Linked DNA regions of Homo sapiens: region 2 is linked to region 1. Evidence: promoter capture Hi-C in 16 types of primary human blood cells and fetal thymus (Javierre and others, 2016). All regions are on one chromosome and are shown on one strand. The core of a region is centred on a gene start or on the middle of the fragment in contact, and the rest is flanking DNA. Distances in the headings are between cores, read along the strand shown.

What was found. The method cuts DNA at HindIII sites, captures the fragments that hold promoters and counts their contacts. A CHiCAGO score of 5 or more calls a contact.
Region 2: a contact is called between a fragment that was not itself captured here and the fragment with the promoter of WBP4 in region 1, in 1 of 17 cell types (fetal thymus). The highest score is 5.1, in fetal thymus.

The regions. Positions count from the first base shown.
Region 1 is chr13:41,060,174-41,064,082 of GRCh38, reverse strand. It overlaps WBP4 (WW domain binding protein 4), which reads right to left and starts at 2,574. Exons shown (of 10, transcript NM_007187.5): 1 at 2,408-2,574; 2 at 1,367-1,439. The coding sequence starts at 2,409. TRE-TTC1-2 (tRNA-Glu (anticodon TTC) 1-2) reads left to right here and starts at 3,274; the gene lies at 3,274-3,345. It also overlaps a transcript of ELF1 not described here. RefSeq lists a silencer at 3,780-3,909. The HindIII fragment of the contact is 8,920 bases long and covers 1-3,909 here.
Region 2 is chr13:40,771,858-40,775,884 of GRCh38, reverse strand. No RefSeq gene overlaps it. Among named protein-coding and RNA genes, the nearest start is that of MRPS31, 2.7 kb to the right of the region's middle. The HindIII fragment of the contact is 1,977 bases long and covers 811-2,787 here.

The DNA of each region.
Region 1 (3,909 bases), core at 1,325-3,824:
AATGAAAAAAAAAAATGATAACCTATGGGGAGTGATGGCCACTAGATGACTGGGGACAGGGGCTGGTGAGTGAGCGCAATTATCTATTTAAACAATCAGAAATGCTCCCTAAATTACAAGTTTCTAGTTAAATGCAGTAAGAAATTCCTCACAAGCTCTGCAAAATAAGTTCTGTCAATCAAATCTTACATGATGCATTAACTGAGCTATTTTAAAATACTACCATGAATTCATCTTTAAAGTGTGACTTTGTAAAGCAGATAATCCTCCTGTTTTTCATACATTGCGTTTCCTAAAGTTGATTACACTACACAAAGAATACAATATTAAAGGACCATTCAAAATTAAATTAATTTTGTTTCTAATTAAAGGTTAAATCAATGTGTATTACCAACTCAAGAAGATAAAGACAGACTACACTGGAAGGGATTACTTACTCTAGATAACTCACAAAATTCATTTTACAGCCTAGGTACCTCCAAGAAAGAGAGACTTTAAGTGACCTGTGTGGTTTTAAAAATTCATGGTATTTATTTATAAGGATAGCCTAGGTAAAATAGTGAAGAACTTTAGCAACTATCCAAAAAGACCAAAACATCAAAAAAAAATCCAAATCCTAAACACCTTGCAGGTAACAGGAAATAAATGTCTACAGAAGAAATCCACAGCATTGTTAAAATATGAGACTACTATTCTTTGTGCATCCAACTTTGCCAAGTAAAAACGGTATCAACATAAAATATATTTAACAGATACCCTAGTGTTTATGTGGTATGTACATAGTATTTTGACATGCAAGAGGGGAGAAAAATCAGCGGTGTGCTTTTTGCTTTACATCTTCAAAACTGGATCTCAACTATGAGACAGACTAACAACATACCTAACAGAGTTGTTACTTTGTTTCATGAGAAAGGAAATAATGGTGTTCTTTCAAATTTAAGCATCTAAAGATACACAGCTCTGCATTAAATACACTTGATTATTTCTAGACCACAAAATATACAAGAAAAACTAAACATGTTGCTTTTATTTTTTAAGGGCTTTCCACAATTCTTTGGGTATGACAGTATTATGAACACCACCATTATAATATAGGTGCTTCATAACATGAATGATATGACCAACTCATTGCCCATTTCCCAAAAGGCCACAGAGAAATAATTTAATATATAATCAAAGTCAGGTTGATGAAAAGGAAGAAGGCTCACAGCTTTCATAGGGGACTGAGAAGACAGAAATCTTCTGATGTTTTGAAAATGCAAGAGCAATGTACATAAAAGTGCTTTGTAAACTGAGTTTACATCAAAAAGGAGCACTTCATTCAACACAATTATTATTAGAATCTCTAACAGCGGAATTATCATACAGGCCTATTGTCTGCTATCCAGCACTTGCAGTAATCACAGAATTTCTTTGGCTGTGACTTCCAGTAGTCCGCCCTGAAAAAGAGAGACAACAAGGCTAAGCTCATGTAAAACTTAAAAAAGGTTAAATTCTGCATGCTTTACAGTTTTTAAAGTTTGAAATATATGCCCCTGCTACTGAATCTTGTCTTGTTATGTATAGTCGTTTTATTATTTATCTGGTTGGAGCACAGTCAATTGAAATTCTGTTGCCAGCGGAGTAGAAAAAGTCTGTATCTGATTCATTACAAAACTCCCTTCAATAAAATGGCTTTCAAAAATTCCTCACTTGTTATCGTCATCGTTATGAAAAACTAAGGAACATCTTAGAAGAACATTTATCCTTTCTGGCTTTGGGGGAGGTTGCTGTAATGGAAACCTGAAGAAACTCATAAAGTTTGCCTTAAATCAAGTTATTCCCACCAAGAGAACAACGTACAAGACTACTCTGGGGAAAACTGTAGTTCCTCCCAGACTCTCAGTTAAAACAAACTGTTCTTGAGCCTCAAGGCAAGAGAGAACTGGAAAAGCCATGGGACTTCGTAGACGGCCGACAAAAAAAAAAAAAAAAAAAAAAAAAAAACCATTACGCTATCCAGGGCTGGCCGCTTCCAGTGGGCGGGGGAGGCCGCAGCCCAGCCCTAGTTTCACAATACCCTAGGGTTCAGGGGCTTCGGAAACCCAAGGGGTGCATGCGACCCCCGACAGCGTCGTAGAGAGAGCACTGCGTCGCTTCACCCGCGGCCGTCCAACCAGCCCCCTGAACCGGCCGCCGGCCTCCCCCTAGAGCCCGTGCCCCATACCCCAGGGCGTTCAGCGGGGTAACATTTCTACCCCGCCCTGAGAACCGGCCCTGCAGGTCTGGGGCCGGTCCCGAGCGAGTTAAGAACGCGTCTGTCACGCCCCCGGCCGAAGGGCGGGAGGAGAGGAGGGGAAGACCCGGGCGAGAAAGGGCGGCCCAGAGAAACAACACCTCGTTGTTCAGGGCCTGAGACCCAACTCACATGACTGCGCCAGCCGCTCTGCAAGTCGTCCAGGGTTCCACTCAGACTCGCGCTTTCCCAGCGGGACGAGTCGAGCTCTTCCAGCCGCCCGATGCCCACCCGAACCTCCCTCCGATCCAGACACCTTACTCAGTCCCCGGGACCAGCGTTCCGCTGTTCCCAACTACGGGTGCCCAGACGATCCAATCCGCGTTCGAAATCGCCTCCTCTCCCCTCCCCCTACAGGGGCGGTACTCCCGGCTCCAAAGAGGTGGGGTCGGTATAAAGGGGTTGAGGTCACCGGGAAGGGGTAAAAGCGCGACGGGACCTGAGCTGAAGGACGGGATCTCAAGCCTCAAGTCCCTGCGCCATCCCGCCGTCTCTGTGTCCTCCCCTGGGGCCCAAAACCTCCATCCTCCTTCTAGGCTCGCTGGCTCAAGGCCAAGGAGCTCAGCGCGCCGCCTCCGCCCGGAACGCAAACAGCTGTTCCCAGAGACGTCTCCGCTCTCAACTTTGCCAACTACTCCGCACGCACTTTGACCAGCGGAGCAACCGGGACCTGTGGGTCGGGGTCCTCTGGCGGAGTTAAAAAAAAAAGAGGTGAAACTGCGGGACCGGCGCTGCGAGTCGCTAGGCTTCGCCTCAAACTTTGCTGTTGCAGCGGAGCGGCCCCGCCCCTCCTCTCCCCTACGACGCCCACGCGCTCGGATGGGGCTTGTTCCCTAGCTCGGGAGCGTGTGGGCAGCAGCAGCGGCGGCGGCGGCGGCGGCGGCGGCGGCGGCAGCAGCAGCTTCAGTAGCGCAGAGGCGGCGGTGGCGAGAGGTGCGGCGAAGGAGGCAGAGGCACTTATGCTTGTCAGGTGGGTCACGGCAGTTTCTCATAGCACTTCCCATATGGTCTAGCGGTTAGGATTCCTGGTTTTCACCCAGGTGGCCCGGGTTCGACTCCCGGTATGGGAACGCTTCCTTATTTTTCTTTTTTTTTGCAACTATCGGTTTGGAGGGCTGACTTTTTAAATCTTGTGTTCTGGCTCCTTTCTTGTCCCCGTCTGGGTGAGTTTGTAGAAAATAAGCATTACTGTAGTTAGTGGCGCCAGGAGCTGGGCTGCGGCTTTTGGAGCCTCGAGTGCCACGCCGTGCCTGCTGGAGAAGCGAATGCGCTTCCGATCCTTCTCCCTCCCGCCTCCGGCTCACGGGGCTGGTGGGCCCTGAGGGAGTTTCACTTTCCCCTGGGCTGCTCCCCCGCCCCTCCGGCCCGTAGTTTTCCAGACGCCCGGGAGGTGATGATTAACTCCGGCCTTGCGTTATCTCCTCCCAGCGCCCCCGTCCGGCCCACACCCTCTTCAGCCGCTCTTGCGACTCTTCCTATGCAGGACGGGCTGACCCCCCTGCCCTGGGCGCCCCAGAGCCCGCGCCCGGACCAGTAGCTCTAGTGGTTCTCTGGCCGCAGGGTATTTACGAGGCCCCACGGAACACAGTGTGCCTTCCGCGCCCTCCCGGGGGGACGCGCTTTCCCGGCCGCGC
Region 2 (4,027 bases), core at 550-3,049, 290 kb after region 1:
ATTCTGCAGGCTTATTTCACAAAGAGCAAACCTCAGAAGACTGGGGCCATTGCTGACCTGGCTAGTTGGATTTTCAAATATTGACCATTCCTGGACTCCTTGCTACAGGGTTTCATACATCTGCTGTGACATCGGACTGATCTTGTTGGATAATTCTGATGTCAATGAGAAAATTAAATGAGATAAGAATGTAAATGGTTTAGTATGCAACGATGGCAGTTAGTGGTATTATTATTCTCATTACCATATTGGGCATGTTTATGCTGCCTCCTGATTTTATTGGAAAAAGTCTTACATGCATTTTTACACAGAGGCATTGAAAGTTAATTCAGAGTTGATTTTAGGGAAAAGGATTACTTTGGACATAAAATATACAGATTTATAGACATATTCATTGGGAAATGAAGTTACATATATGGGCAATTCTAGTGACTGAAAAGCAATTAATAGAATCAATTACATTTGATTGCCTATCAAGTGCATAGACTAAGTATGATGGAAAATGGCATAAAACAAACAGCAGAATATGATACATCTTACTGCACAAGCAAAGTAGCCACAGAGCCTGTAAACCTCACTTGTGCTATGACATTCGTGTTCTGCCATCCTGCCACTTGGGAGAAGGGGCTCATTGTTTTTACCCTTTTGTGACCCACTAGCATGAACTAGTGGCTAGTTTATGCAGATTGGTAGAATAGTTTAAATTGTTCTGAATCTTTCTAGATGTATTATTTACTCACTTAGATCTTTCCAAGACGTATTATTTACTAGCTTTAAAGTGTTTCTAAGAATTAGTATAGTAATTAAGCTTAGAAATGAATCTGGGATACATTAAATATTATGGGAAAGAAGTTCATTGCGATGAAGTGAAATTGCTTGTACCATTAACTAACCTGCTACTTCAATATCTTCGCTGTGATTTTGCAACTTTGTAAGAGTTAGCCTGCTTTAGGCCGGGCACTGTGTGGAGAGAGGCCCAGCCAGCCCCTGTTTCTTCCAGCTATTCCAGCTGAGGTATCAGATGTGTGGGTGAAGAAACCATCCCGGACATTCAGTCTTATCTGATGGCAACCACATGAGGGATCAAAGTAGGGACCACCCAGCTGAGCTGCCCCGTCCACCACAGAACCAGGATAGATAACAAATTGTTGTTTTAAGATACTAAGCGTTAGGATGGTTTGTTGTGCAGCAATGGATAACTGGAATATAGGGTGATTTTGTTTCTTCATTTTCTTGTAAGGCTTGTTGAGTTAATTCGTATAGAATTTTATGAGATAGCTAGGACAAAGTCACCACTCTATATCAGGAGCAATTTCAGTTGATTTTCTATTTCTTGCCTTGTTTCTAAAAAGTGCATTTCCAGGGGTCCCTGGGAAGAAAATGACTGGTGAATCAAATACCATAATAGAAAGTTAGAGGAGGAAAAAATTTTCTACTTTCGGCTTTCTTTTTGTCACTCTCATAAATGATTGCTCTGGAAAAAAAATTACACAAGTCATATTAGTTTTTCAAAGGACAGACTTTTGAAGTTTGGGGGGAATTTATTGAAATTCTCTTCATGATTTAATTTATGGCCAAGTAGAACTATCCTATTAATTCTCTTTTTTTTTAAGTCAAATTTATTTATTTATTTAGAGAGAGGGTTTTGCCCTGTCATCTAGGCTGGAGTGCAGTGGCTCAATCACTGCTCACTGTAGCCTCCACCTTCTGGGCTCAAGCAATCCTCCCACTTCAGCCTCCCAAGTAGCTGAGACCACAGGGGCACCATGCCCAGCTAATTTTTTTATTTTTTGGTAGAGACAGTGTCATGAGTTCAGCTAAAATTCCAGAAGAAGAGAATGGCTATAGGTGGACAACAGCAATCCGTGCCAGAGTGCGACTGGATGGGGCAGGAGACTACATTAACCACGGTGGTCAAAGAAAGCCTCTATTGTAAGAAAGTGATAGTGGAAGGAACCAAATGGTAGAGAAGACTAAATTTCAATTCTGGCTTGTGACCCTCAGCCAGGCACTTTCACATAGTCACGGCCTATCTACCCTTACGGAGCAGGGAGGTAATTTACTGTGTCTGCACTACCTTAGAGTAGATTAAGAACAGGGTAGCTGGGACAAGGTCTTCCCCCAGAGAAACTGAAATTGAGATGGAAGTTTTCATCTTCTTTGTTAAGAGATTTTAGGGTTTTAAAAAACCCATTTGAAGGATATTATAAGAAATCGAAAAAAGATGAGGTAACTATTAAATGTGATCCACATGGACTGCTTATTATACTCAAGAATGGATTTTCCACTGGGTATCAAGTGATATCAAGGAAAGTATGCTGTACTGCTAATATTCTATTTCTTGATCCAGGTGGAGGTTTATATGGGTGAATTAACTCTGTGATCATTCCTTAAACACATTTTTGGTCAGGCACGGTGGCTAATGCTTGTAATCCCAGCACTTTGGGAGGCCAAGATGGGAAGATCACCTGAAATCAAGAGTTCGAGACTAGCCTGGCCAACATAGTGAAATCTGTCTCTGCTAAAAATGCCAAAATTAGCTGGGGGTGGTGGTGCACGCCTGTACTCCCAGCTACTCGGGAGGCTAGGGCAGGAGGATTGCTTGAACCTGGGAGGTGGAGGTTGCAGTGAGCTGAGATAGCACCACTGCACTCCAGCCTCGGTGACAGAGCAAGACTCCATCTCAACAATAACAAAGATACATTTTCATCAACATATTTATAATTCATACACTTTTCTGTATTGAAGTTGCTAAAGTTTATAGGAGGCCGTAGTTTTGGACAAGCTTCCTGTACTAGCCCCCAGCACACCAGAGCAAACCAGAATAGTCACTTGTGCTAAGTGCCAAGTAATCAAACTGAACTTTGAAATCAGGGCCAGTTTTCCAAAAGCAGGAGATTCACAGCACCAATCAGAGGGGCCCTAGTTTACCTGAGCCAGCATGACAAGGAATCCCTCTGTTTTAACCCTATAAGGAAGGTAACTTTGAAATGACCAATCTGATTTTTGTTCCCTGTTTCTATTTTCTTCAACTCTTTTGTGCTTGTAAAGCCAAACCCCTCTGCTCAACTCACTGGAACACTATTCTAGAATCACAAATAAAAACCAATTATGCTAAATTTGCCATAATTTTGTTTTTTGACAAAGTTATGCTTTAATTTTTGTTTGTTTTTTTACAAATCAGACAAAGTAAGCATCCCCAAGTGTACTGTGTAGAGCATTCAGTCACAAAGGTTCTGTTAGTGTTAGTGGATCTCAGGAAGATCTGCTCAATGTAAGCTGTGTTTTAGTATCACAAAAACTCACCTCCCCACCTTGATTATTTTTTGAGAGGACAGGGAAAATGTTGATGTAAACTTTGGAATGCCTTTATGGAATTTTAGGCTAGTGGTTCCCATGTGTCCTATTAGCCAACATTTCCCACCAGATTTATTCTCATCCCCTTCCAAGTTTGGGAACCCCACATCTCTTCTGGGGTCACAGTTCCCTGTTTCATGAGGGACAGGTAAAAGCCAAGTCTCTCTCTTGCATCTTTTCATCCTTTTTTTTTTTTGAGACGGGGTCTCACTCTGTTGCCCAGGCTGGAGTGCAGTGGCACAATCTTGGCTCACTGCAGCTTCCGCCTCCCGGGTTCAAGCTATTCTCCTGCCTCAGCCTCCCGAGTAGCTGGGATTATAGGCACTCGCCACCACGCCAGGTTAATTTTTGCATTTTTAGTAGAGTCAGGGTTTCACTATGTTGACCAGGCTGGTCTTCACCCCTGGCCTCAAGTGATCTGCCCGCCTCGGCTTCCGTAAGTACTGGGATTACAGGTATGAGCCACTGTGCCCCCGGCGTAAATCTTTTTTTCTTTTCTTTTTTGTTTTTTTGAGACAAAGAATCTCGCCCTGTAGCCCAAGCTGGAGTGCAATGGCGCGATCTCGGCTCACTGCAGCCCCCACCTCCCGAGTTCAAGCGCTTCTCCTGCCTCAGCCTCCCCAGTAGCTGGGATTACAGGCGCCCGCCACCACGGCCGGCTAATTGTGTG